Linked DNA regions of Homo sapiens: regions 2, 3 and 4 are each linked to region 1. Evidence: promoter capture Hi-C in 16 types of primary human blood cells and fetal thymus (Javierre and others, 2016). All regions are on one chromosome and are shown on one strand. The core of a region is centred on a gene start or on the middle of the fragment in contact, and the rest is flanking DNA. Distances in the headings are between cores, read along the strand shown. Region 1 holds the start of IL26 (interleukin 26). Region 2 overlaps NUP107 (nucleoporin 107). Region 3 overlaps RAP1B (RAP1B, member of RAS oncogene family). Region 4 holds the start of SNORA70G (small nucleolar RNA, H/ACA box 70G).

The links. The method cuts DNA at HindIII sites, captures the fragments that hold promoters and counts their contacts. A CHiCAGO score of 5 or more calls a contact.
Region 2: a contact is called between a fragment that was not itself captured here and the fragment with the promoter of IL26 in region 1, in 3 of 17 cell types (erythroblasts, M1 macrophages and megakaryocytes). The highest score is 7.0, in erythroblasts.
Region 3: a contact is called between a fragment that was not itself captured here and the fragment with the promoter of IL26 in region 1, in 1 of 17 cell types (M1 macrophages). The highest score is 5.1, in M1 macrophages.
Region 4: a fragment that was not itself captured here is called in contact with the fragment with the promoter of IL26 in region 1 in 2 of 17 cell types (M1 macrophages and erythroblasts); the score reaches 5.8 in M1 macrophages.

What each region holds. Positions count from the first base shown.
Region 1 is chr12:68,224,246-68,227,185 of GRCh38, reverse strand. It overlaps IL26 (interleukin 26), which reads left to right and starts at 1,376. Exons shown (of 5, transcript NM_018402.2): 1 at 1,376-1,600; 2 at 1,686-1,742; 3 at 1,903-2,037. The coding sequence starts at 1,430. The HindIII fragment of the contact is 7,284 bases long and covers 1-2,940 here.
Region 2 is chr12:68,726,486-68,729,425 of GRCh38, reverse strand. NUP107 (nucleoporin 107) reads right to left here. Exons shown (of 28, transcript NM_020401.4): 19 at 2,809-2,927; 20 at 2,037-2,075. Among named protein-coding and RNA genes, the nearest start is that of SLC35E3, 18 kb to the left of the region's middle. The HindIII fragment of the contact is 2,047 bases long and covers 355-2,401 here.
Region 3 is chr12:68,644,431-68,647,370 of GRCh38, reverse strand. All of the region lies in intron 1 of RAP1B (RAP1B, member of RAS oncogene family), which reads right to left. Among named protein-coding and RNA genes, the nearest start is that of SNORA70G, 19 kb to the right of the region's middle. The HindIII fragment of the contact is 5,436 bases long and covers 1-2,940 here.
Region 4 is chr12:68,624,522-68,627,461 of GRCh38, reverse strand. All of the region lies in intron 1 of RAP1B (RAP1B, member of RAS oncogene family), which reads right to left. SNORA70G (small nucleolar RNA, H/ACA box 70G) reads left to right here and starts at 87; the gene lies at 87-228. It also overlaps the pseudogene RPL10P12. The HindIII fragment of the contact is 155 bases long and covers 1,341-1,495 here.

The DNA.
Region 1 (2,940 bases), core at 127-2,626:
TTTTGTGAATAGTTCTCATCTCAATTGATAGGGTGTGTCGTTACCAGTGATCTTGCTCCTGGGGAAATAAGGCTTGGATTCTTCCAAGAGATCCACTCATGTTTTGAAACAGCAGACATCAGTCCAAGCATTTTTCTTATTTTCCCTTTTTCTTCTTGGTTGTTTTTTTTTTGTTTTTTTTTTGTTTTTTTTTTGTTTTTTTGACAGCCCTGCTTGCTTTCATTTGGAATTTAGTCTTGGGTTCTGATGCTTGTTATTGACTGACTAGTTTTGATGACTCTCTTAACTCACAACCAGATTTCTAGTGTTGACTTATCCCTGATACACATTAACTCTATTCATTCTAGGCTTTAGTGACCTATCTCTGCTTCTCAGAATATGACTCTGGGCTGCCCTCTTCTTATATTGGGGCTGCTACCCAGAATGAGCCATATTTACTGTCTAGGAAGAACTGGGACAGAAATGAGGATGGGAGTTTATGGAGAATCCTCCTTGGTGGCTCCCTCATACCTAGCACTGGTTTTTGTGTAGGCAAGTCTTTAATAAAAATGTGTGAATGGAAGAAATTTAAAAAATAAAGCAGTTATGGTAGCACGTCATGATGTGACAAAAGTATTTACTCAATTAATAATGGATGCACTTCTTTAGATGAGGTGCCATGGTAGATGCTGTATTCAAAGGTGAAAATATACGGTCTCTTTCTTCAAGGAATTTGCACTCTCCTGGAAGTTGGGAGTTATAAGGAAAGTCTGAGTGGTAAATTTGGACAGAGATGACAGAGAACTTATTACATTGTGGACCTTAGTCCCAGGTCCAGTTCCAAACATATCTTGAATATGTTAAGGGGAGTTACTGTTTCTGCACTGGAAATGTTCTCGCTGCTATCTGCAGAATAATGGCCTCTGGGGGAAGCTGGGTGAAGGATGTGGCAAGCAATAAACACAAGACCCATTTGAATCGTGAGCAGATTTCCTGGGGCTGCCCATTTCTACCCCCTTGTTAAATTTTTTCTGGGATTCTGGTTAGAAAAGGAGATTTTTCACATGGGGTTTAAAAAATTATGACACAGCCCCCTGGAAATCATCCTGTTTTTATTGGCATGCCTTTTAAAATAATGCAAGCTGCTGTGATAGGCAACTGAAATTCTGAATTCTTTTGGAAATGAGAACGCAATCTTACCAGTAAGGCTGAGCTTTTAAATAATGTCAGTTGATGGTGTGATCAGCGTTTTTTGACTATGAAGCAAGCTCTTAAAAAAATAGAACAACCAAAGTGATCTTCCTCTATATAAACTGTAAATTATCTTTCACAGCACCTCATTGGACTGGTGGCTTTGAGGGCTACATTAAGTAGGTTATCCTCTCATCTAACCGGCATTAGTATCTCTTGGGCTGCTGTGAGTGACACACGCTGAGTGGGGTGAAGGGAAATGCTGGTGAATTTCATTTTGAGGTGTGGGTTGCTGTTAGTCACTCTGTCTCTTGCCATTGCCAAGCACAAGCAATCTTCCTTCACCAAAAGTTGTTACCCAAGGGGAACATTGTCCCAAGCTGTTGACGCTCTCTATATCAAAGCAGCATGGCTCAAAGCAACGATTCCAGTAAGTATTAGGCTCTGCTTAAAATCATGACCTCAAGGACATTTACAATCTTGGATACAACTTATTTCTCTTTGTATTATTGTAGGAAGACCGCATAAAAAATATACGATTATTAAAAAAGAAAACAAAAAAGCAGTTTATGGTAAGTCAGAAAGTCTTCTTCTTTTTTACATTTCCACTTATTTGATGTTTATTTCCCCCTGCATTTAAATTTTTTTCAGAGAGTAATTAAGTAATGATCGGGGGACATTAAAAAACGATTCATAATTTACCATATGCAATTTCTTGTATCTTATTTTTAGAAAAACTGTCAATTTCAAGAACAGCTTCTGTCCTTCTTCATGGAAGACGTTTTTGGTCAACTGCAATTGCAAGGCTGCAAGAAAATACGCTTTGTGGAGGACTTTCATAGCCTTAGGCAGAAATTGAGCCACTGTGTAAGTATACACAACAAATACTGTGCATTTGATCCTAGAAACCTGTTTAGAAGTCAGCATGTAAGAATCTGTCTCACACCAAAGGGTGAGTAAAACGAGCTTTGTAATTGTTGGCTTGTAGTCCAAATGGAGAGGTCATCACCAGGGAAATAGCATTAAATAACTGTACATTACTCAGAATGCTGCTATTTATTATTTCTTAAAGAATGGCTCATAAAACACACTGAAGAGAGCTAAAGTAACATGACATGGTTTTCAAATAAATACTTTAAAATCATTCTCTCATTATGTGATTCCCAAGTAATCCATTCATCCATTTAATATTTCTTGAGTACCAACTTTGTGCCAAACACTATTCTAAGTCTCTCTTTCTCTCCCTTCCTCCCTCTCTCCCTCTCTCCCTTCTTCCCTCCCTCCCTCCCTTCCTTCCCTCTCCCTCCCTCCCTCTCCCCTTTCTCTTCCTCCACCCTCCTTCCCTCCCTCTCTCTTTCTTTCTTTTCCTTCCTTCCTTCTTTCTTTACTTCCTTTTCTTTCTTTCTCTCTCTCTTTCCTTCCTTCCTTCTTTCCCATAACAATAATAACTAACTGATGCCCTTTTTCTTATTTACTTATGTTTTTAAAAAAATATTTGTGCCCCTTTTAAGGCATAATCTCAGTAAAAAACTTAAAAAGGGATAGACATGCCTTCTTTGGTACCTAAATTATTTGATGCCTCAGTATGGTCACTGTCATAGCAAGCAGTGGAGAATTAATTAAGAAGGTAAAAGTGATCACATTTCTATGAAAAATTCCACAGCAATAAAGACCAGTGCAGAAAACAAAACAAAACAAAACAAAACAAAACAAAACAAAACAAAACAAAAACACTGAGCCAGAATCTGTGCAATGTTAGTCGAGTTGCCT
Region 2 (2,940 bases), core at 129-2,628, 500 kb before region 1:
GTATGTCATAAATCCATTATATGTAGATTCTGGTCTATTTTATCACTTACTACTATAAAATATATATGAATCTATTATAAAAAGTTAAAATTTATCAAAACGTACACACATTTACAGACCATACATTGTGGTCTAGAGAAATGTAAACAAGCATACAGATGCAGTATTAAATCATAACTGCATACAACTAACTGTAGTAGATACTATACTACTGTAATAACTTTAGAGCCACTTCCTGCCACTACTGGGGTGAGCTCAAGTGCTGTGAGTATCCATTTAAAATGCCGTGTGATGCTAATCATCTCTGAAGAGCTGTTGGTCTCTTCAGTTGCATACTGCAATAAAAAGTAAGCTTTCCCAGGTCTTGTTTTTTTTAGTGCAATACTATAAACCCTTAATAACACCACAGGAGCCATACAAAGTGCCAGTAGTGATACTGGAAGTTCTCCCAAGAAGCAGAGAAAAGTCATGAGATTACAAGAAAAAGGTGAATTGCTTGATATACTGTAGATTGAGGTCTGTAACTGTGGTTGTCCATTTCAAATAGACAATTCATCTTGTAAACAGACAACATAAACTTACAGTATTAACAGGTACAGTATAGTACTATAAACGTAGTTTCTCTTCCTTATGATTTTTATTATTTATTCTTTTTTTAACTTTTAAAAGTTATTTATTAATTTTTAAACTTAAAAAAAAAAAAAAAGACAGGTCCAGGCCGGGTGTCGTGGTTCACGCCTGTAATCCCAGCTCTTTGGGAGACTGAGGGGGGTGGATCATGAGGTCAGGCGTTAAAGATCAGCCTGGCCAACATAGCAAAACCCCATCTCTACTAAAAATACAGACAATTAGCCAGCACCTTTAATCCCAGCTACTCGGGAGGCTGAGGCAGGAGAACCGCTTGAACCTGGGAGGCGGAGGCTGCAGTAAGCCGAGATGGTGCCACTGCACTCCAGCCCGGGTGACAGCGCAAGACTCCGTCTCAAAAAAAAAAAAAAAAAAAAGACAGGTTTTCGCTGTTTCCCAGGCTAGTCTTGAACTCCTGGGCTCAAGCGATCCACCCACCTCTGTTTCCCAAAGTGCTGGGATTACAGGCGCAAGCCACCACGTCTGGCCTGATTGTTTTTTTTTTTTTTTTTTGAGATGGTCTCACTCTGTCACCCAGCTGGAGGGCAGTGGCGAGATCACAGCTCACTGCAACCTCCAACTCCTGGGCTCACTCGATCTTCCTGCCTCAGCCTCCCGAGTAGCTGGGTTTACAGATATGAACCACTGTGCCCTGCTAATTTAAAAAAATTTTTTGTAGTAGAGAGAAGGGTCTCCCTATGTTGCCCAGGCTGATCTCAAACGTCTGGACTCAAGCAGTCCTCTCGCCTCTGCCTCCCAAAGTGTTGGGATTACCGGTATGAGCCACCTCGCCGAGCCCCTTATGATTTTCTTAGTAATGTTTTCTTTTCTCTAACTTACATTATCATAAGAATACAGTACAGTTGAGCTTTGAACAACACGGGATTGAACTGTGCAGGTCCACTTCTGCATAAATTTTTTTCAACTCAACTTAGAAAATACAGTGTTATCTGGATGTGAAATCTGCAAATATGGAAGGCCAATTTTTCGTATATGCAGGTTCTGCAGGGCCAACTGTGGGACATGAGTATACACAGATTTTGTTATATGTGGGGGTCCTGGAGCCAATCCCCCAAGTATACTGAGGGATGACTGCATATGATACATGTAATATACAAAATGTGTTAATTGTGTGTTTATGTTATTGGTATGATTTCTGGTCAGCAGTAGGGTATCAGTAGTTAGGTTTTTGGGGAGTCAAAAGTTATAGTGAATTTTTGATTGTGCGGGGCGGTGGGGGTTGTTTTCCTAATCCCTGCATTATTCAAAGGTCAACTGTGCTGATAATTAAAAGATCTCTTATGGATTCTGATGCTTTCTTACCACTGAGAATTAAAATAGCATCATTCTGAGTTTTGTTTTCATTAAAATAGTAAAAAACAATCAGGTTGTAGGTTCTCAAAGTTTACCTGTATGTATGTCTTTAAAACTTCAATAGAAACTTCCTCCTTCATAGGAAAAAAAGACATAATTATAAATACACTGCTTATATGAAAGTAACAAAATTTTTGATACAAATTCCATTATTAAATAATTTAATAATTGTAATGTTTACCACTGAGCAGTAACTATACACCAAGCTAAGTGCTTACCAAAGTTCATCTACTGCCTGATTTAACCTTACCATAACTCTTTTTGGGTAGTTACTATTATTGTTCACATTTTACAGAGGATGAAATTAGGACCAAGGGAAGTTTTATTTACCCAGAGTTACACAGATAGAAGCTGCTGAATAAGGGTATATACTCAGGACTCCTACTCCAAAGCCCAAGCTTTCAACTACTGTATCATTCACTTTCTACATGCACTCTGACCAAAATGTTATCTTCTTTTTTAGAAAAAAAGCAACAAAACAACAACCAACAAAGTTTTAAAATCTCACATAGCACTCACTTTGTTTAGTTAGCTTAGCTGGTTGATTTAAAGCTGGGTACAGACAAGGATAAAGTTATGAATTTATTAAAAACCAGTTAACCAACAGCATTCTGTGGCCACAGACTAGAACCCTAAAGGGCCACTCTCAGTGAGTTATCATTGAGTGACTATACAAGACTATATGGAAGACTTTTGATTCCTTATCACCATTTCTAGAAAACAATAATAAAAAAAGTAGTGTTTTCTTGACAATAGGTATATAGCATCAACATTACAGAGAAGAAGAAATCGTTCATTTTTATATACCTTGGTCTGTAGTCCCAGAGTACGGAAAAACAAAATAAGGTGAGTCATAAAGCGAAGCAGGTGTCCAGGTAGATTGTTTCTGCTTTTGGAAAGCCATTTGCTAAACTCATCCATCAAACCTACAAGCCATCA
Region 3 (2,940 bases), core at 125-2,624, 420 kb before region 1:
GGCAGGGACAGGGCTTCACCATGTTGGCCAGGATGGTCTCGATCTCTTGACCTCATGATCCACCTGCCTCGGCCTCCCAAAGTGCTGGGATTACAGGCGTGAGCCACCACACCCGGCTTCAAAACCCTGTTTCTACAAAAAAAGACAAAAATTAGCTGGGTGTGGTGGTACACGCCTGTAATCACAGCTACTCGCAAAGCCGAGGCATGAGAATCGCTTGAACCTGGGAGGTGGAGGTTGCAGTGAGCTGAGATCACACCACTGGAGTCCAGCCTGGGCAACACAGTGAGATTCTGTCTCAAAAAGATTCAATAGGATACAAAATAAAAATTGATTTAAGGAAATTTTCAAAAGTATTCTGGCAAAGACCCAACAGTTAAAGTAAAGAGATGGCCTTTCTTTTTGTATATGGGTTCAGGTCTGAAATAGGAAACCTAAAATGGAAAATTGGTAATCCGAAAAAATCTACAATGGTTGAGATTTTCAGAGTCTTACAAACAAACTAGAAAAAACTAAATAAAAAGGTCTTTGTTTTCGAAGAAATGCAAGCCCACAGATGAGGCTACTTGTACAAACAGAGCCACAGGAGGAACTGATGTTGCATGTTCACTAACAAATGGAAGTACAATAACCCCAAATCTGTTCATTATTGCTGCTCCAAAGGAAATATGAGCATCCAATTCTCCACCCTTCCTCCACTGGGAGTGAGAGTGGGACTGACTACATATAGTCACAGGAAACCTTTTGGGGGTGATGGAAGTGTTCTAAAAACTAGTTGTAGTGGGCCGGGCGCAGTGGCCCACACCTGTAATCCTAGCACTTTGGGAGGCTGAGGCAGGCGGATCACAAGGTCAGGAGTTCAGCCTGGCCAATATGGTGAAACCCCGTTTCTACTAAAAGTACAAAAATTAGCTGGGCATGGTGGTGGGCACATGTAATCCCAGCTACTCGGGAGGCTAAGGCAGGAGAATCGAGTGAACCCGAGAAGTGGAGGTTGCAGTAAGCTGAGATCGTGCCACTGCACTCCAGCCCCGGTGAGACTGCAACACTCCATCTCAAAAAAAAAAACACACCAAAAACTGGTTGTAGTGATGGCTGCATAACTATATATTCACTAAAACCTCCAAACATAACACAACTGACCGAAACAACATAAAAACTACAATTTTAAAATACTGAATATAAAAACTATACATTTATCAGAGGTGATTTTTCTAAGAGACGTATGCCTTTCTTATTTCACAAAGGTGGCTGAGTTGGCTGTGGGAGCTACACTTCTTAGTGAGGTGACTGGGACTCTTTTTCCCAGCTGCTTCATTTATCCATGAATGAGCATTATTATTTGTTGCTAGAATGAGTCAGGTTCATCCATATTATTGTATCTATCAGTAACTTGCTCCTTTTATTTATTACTGTTGATTAAAATATACCACATGAATACATGATATTTTCTTTACCCATTCACACCAGCTGATTTCCAGTTTGGGGATATTATCAGGGTATTTCTGTTACCTTAAACAGCAAAACAAAACAAAAAAAACCCAACAGTACAATAGTCAAGATTTGAATCAGTATTTTTCAAATCTGTGCTTTCTACTACACCAGCCTTGAAAAGACTGAAAAACAGATTTTTATTGCGAATGCCAACTCTGACTGACTGGCAACAGCCATTATCCTGTTTTTAGGATGGTGTGGTTGCATCTAGTTTTGCAGAAAAGACAACTCTGTTCAATAAGCAACATAATTGGCTTGTGGTGCTGGTAGGGACTGGGAAAGAGCTGTAGCACCTGTTATTTGTATAGCGTATTTGTGATCTTTAGGCATAACCTTTCTGTTCAAGTGTTCTTTTCCTGAAGTCCTTAGCTCAGGTTAAGAATGAGCACTTTGAAATATGTCAATTCCCTAAAATTTCATGCACAATTAAAAATGGGAATAGTTACATCAGATTTTCAAAGACATTTGTGACAACTACTATTTGAGACATTGAGACTAATTGTTCTCTTTCACAGAACCCCATGGGGGGACAATTTTGACAGCACAGCATAGTGGCTAATGGTACCTAAGTTTCAAATTGTGGTTTTCTATAATCTTGGGCAAGTCACGAAACCTTTCAGAGCCTCACTTTCCTTCCAGGTAAAATTAAGATAGTAACAGCTACATGATAAGGTTGTGAGATGGATTACAAAGAATGTAAACTCCATGAGGATAGGGATTTTTTTTGTTTTACTCACTGCCATATTCCCAGAACCTGAAACTGTGCCTGAAATATGTGATCAATAAATTAAAGAAAGAATAAGGAAAGAAATGTAGTAATTCTTCAGAGTCACTGACACAACACCTTGCACATACTCGTCAACAAAAGATAAATTTCAGGCCAGGCGTGGTGGCTCACGCCTGTAATCCCAGCACTTTGGGAGGCCGAGGCGGTTGGATCACTGGACCAGCTGGACCAGGCTGGTCAGAAGTTCAAGACCAGCCTGGCCAACATGGCAAAGCCTCTACTAAAAATACAAAATTAGCCGGGTGTGGTGGCACATGCCTGTAATCCTACTTACTCGGAAGGCTGAGGCAGGAGAACTGCTTGAACCCAGGAGGTGGAGGTTGCAGTGAGCCCAGATCGCACCACTGCACTCCAGCCTGGGCGACACAGCAAGACTCCATCTCAAAAAAAAAAAAAAAAAAAAGTAACTTTTAAAATAAGAGTAACAATGGTTTGAGCTGCCACTCAGTACACTAAAGAGGACTGCTATTCCTTCAGTTGAGAATCACTGCTCGACTTTTTTTTTTGAGATGGAGTCTTGCTCTGTCACCCAGGCTGGAGTGCAGTGGCGCCATCTCGACTCACTGCAACCTCCGCCTCCCAGGTTCATGCCATTCTCCTGCCTCAGCCTCCTGAGTAGCTGGGACTACAGGTGCCCACCATCACGCCCAGCTAATTTT
Region 4 (2,940 bases), core at 169-2,668, 400 kb before region 1:
CCATTTATACTCCTAACACTATTATTAGTAAAATCTCTCATTCTAGTAGGGATTGGGTATATTTGTGTGTTTTAAAAAACACCCTGCTGCAGCCTATTAAGCCAACTGAGTTCCTTTCCTCATGGGGGGGCCCAGTGTGCAATGGCTGCAAACAGCAGCTTCCTTGGTAGTGTATGCAGCCTGTGTGTTGTATTGTATGGGTTGCTCTAAGGGACCCTGGAGACAGTCCTTTCAGATGGATGTTCATGTTTCTGACCTTGCACTACCCCAGTGTAGGTTCCAAACAGGCATGCGAGGTGCCTTTGGGAAGCCCCAGGGCACTGTGGCCAGGGTTCACACTGGCCAAGTTATCATCTCCATTCACACCAAGCTGCAGAACAAGGAGCATGTGATTGAGGCCCTGCGCAGGGCCAAGTTCAAGTTTTCTGGCCGCCAGAAGATCCACATCTCAAAGAAGTGGGGCTTCACCAAGTTCAATGCCAATGAGTTTGAAGACATGGTGACTGAGAAGCGGCTCATCCCAGATGGCTGTCGGGTCAAGTACATTTCCAATCGTGGCCCTGTGGACAAGTGGCGGGCCCTGCACTCATGAGGGCTTCCACTGTGCTGCCCCCTCTTAATACTCACCAATAAATTCTACTTCCTGTCCACCCAAAACAAACAAACAAACAAACAACAAAAAAAAAACACCCTGGAAAATTCTGATACTACCTTCCCTCTTCCTTAAGACCTTTACCCGAGACCAGAAATATTAGGGGCTGTCTACTAGGACCATTTTATTCATCTTTTTGCCTATAAAATAAATTTCCCCAATTTAATACAGAAAAGGGTGTCTGCTATTCCTCAGATCTCCAGAAATCAGATTATTAATACTTTAAATAAGCTACTCAAATGCCTTAACTTCCACAAGTCACAGATTAAAAATGAGACACTACCTCCAAAGGGATGACTGAGACTGGGGGGAAAGAGGTTATCCAAGATGGTTCTCTATGTCCAAAATTTAAAGATACCATCAAAAACGCCCTATAATATTTGCTGAACAGGTTGCAAAGTAACTACAACCACCACAGAAATATCCCTATTAGTTAGGGAAAATAACTACTTTCACATATTTCAAGCAAATACTATACTACATGCAGTTTATAAGCTGTTGGGTTAGAGGTATAAGAAATTGGAAGTGAGGAACTTTAGTGTTAGTAGATAAATCAAGGTAAGAACTCCAGAACAAAGCATACCCATTTTCATGAATGGAAGAATGCCATAAATATCTTCTCAATATAAATGCTTAAGTGGGGTGGTGCTTTTGCAAACCACCACCCTCCACAAGGATGGGTGAAGCTTTTTTAAAACATGATTTTACAGTCTGTTTCAACACAAGGCCGAATATAGAAATAAACAGAATTAGTGTCTTCCATGAGAGGAGAAACAAATGGCTCAGAAAAATATTTTATTTCATTTTGCTGTTAACCTCATAACCAGGATCAGGTGACAAGCTTAATATGACCACTCCTGAATACACCTGAAACTTTTTTTTTTTTTTTGAGACAGAGTCTCGCTCTATCGCCAGACTGGAGTGCAGCGGCACGATCTTGGCTCACTGCAACATCTGCCTCCTGGATTCAAGCAATTCTCTTGCCTCAGCCTCCCGAGTAGCTAGGACTACAGGTGCGCGCCACCACGCTCGGCTAATTTTTGTATTTTTAGTAGAGACGGGGAGGTTTCACCATGCTGGCCAGGATGGTATCGATCTCTCGACCTCATGATCCACCCGCCTCGGCCTCCCAAAGTGTTGGGATTACAGGCATGAGCCCCACACCCAGCCTCATCTGAAACTTTAAAAAAGAATGCCTTGATTTTAGATTGTGGGTTCGTAATCTGCATGATTATATTATACATTCAAAATGAAACTTAAGGACCAGAATATTCCTAATGGAAAATTCCCCAGTAAACCTGCCAGAAGTTCAGAGGAGAAAAATTAACCAAGTAACAAAACATAGTGGGAGCATAGGTACTTCCTGTAATTTTCTCTAATAATAATTTTAGTATCTCAACCTAAGCATTTATACTACCTGCTTACGCACGCACTGGCTTATGCAGCTAATTGTGTTATAAAGTTGTTTTTGACTAATTTAACAGTTCTTCCTTTTATAATCTACCCTCTTGAGTTTATTCAAAGATCCATTTAATATTCCATAAAATAAAGACCACTCAGAAAAATGAAAGGCACACCACACTTCACTGAAAGACATAAATAATGCTTACATTGGGCTTTCACATATGAATAAACACTTAATTACTTACTTGCATAATTACTAGGCCAGCAAGTACTTAAAGTAGCTCCAAAAAATGCCTATCATGGCAATTCTACAAGTGATAAGACGGTATCCAAAAAACATCACATGCATTATGTGTGCATCGTTGAACATTAGTATATACACCAAACAAATGGATAAAGGCAATGAGAACCAAAGTCTGGGTGGTTAACTAGGCTGTTAGAATAACCAGAGCATCTGAAGAACACATGGAAAGTGGGCAGTCACTTCCTGTAACCAATTCTGAGTTTCTAAGTAGCCTCTTCAGATACTTACTTCAATCCTTGTCACTATCAAATGGTTCCATCGAGGAGCTTTTGTTGTTGTTGTTGTTTGAGACGGAGTCTCACTCTGTCGCCTAGGCTGGAGTGCAGTGGCACGATCTCAGCTCACTGCAAGTTCTGCCTGCCAGGTTCCAGCGATTCTCCTGCTCAGCCTCCCGAGTAGCTGGGACTACAGGAACACACCACCATGCCTGGCTAATTTTCATATTTTTAGTAAAGATGGGGTTTCACCATGTTGGCCAGACTGGTCTCGAACTTCTGGCCTCAAGTGATCCGCCCGCCCTGGCCTCCCAAAGTGCTCTGCCTGCCTTGGCCTCCCAAAGTGCTGGGATTACAGACGTGAG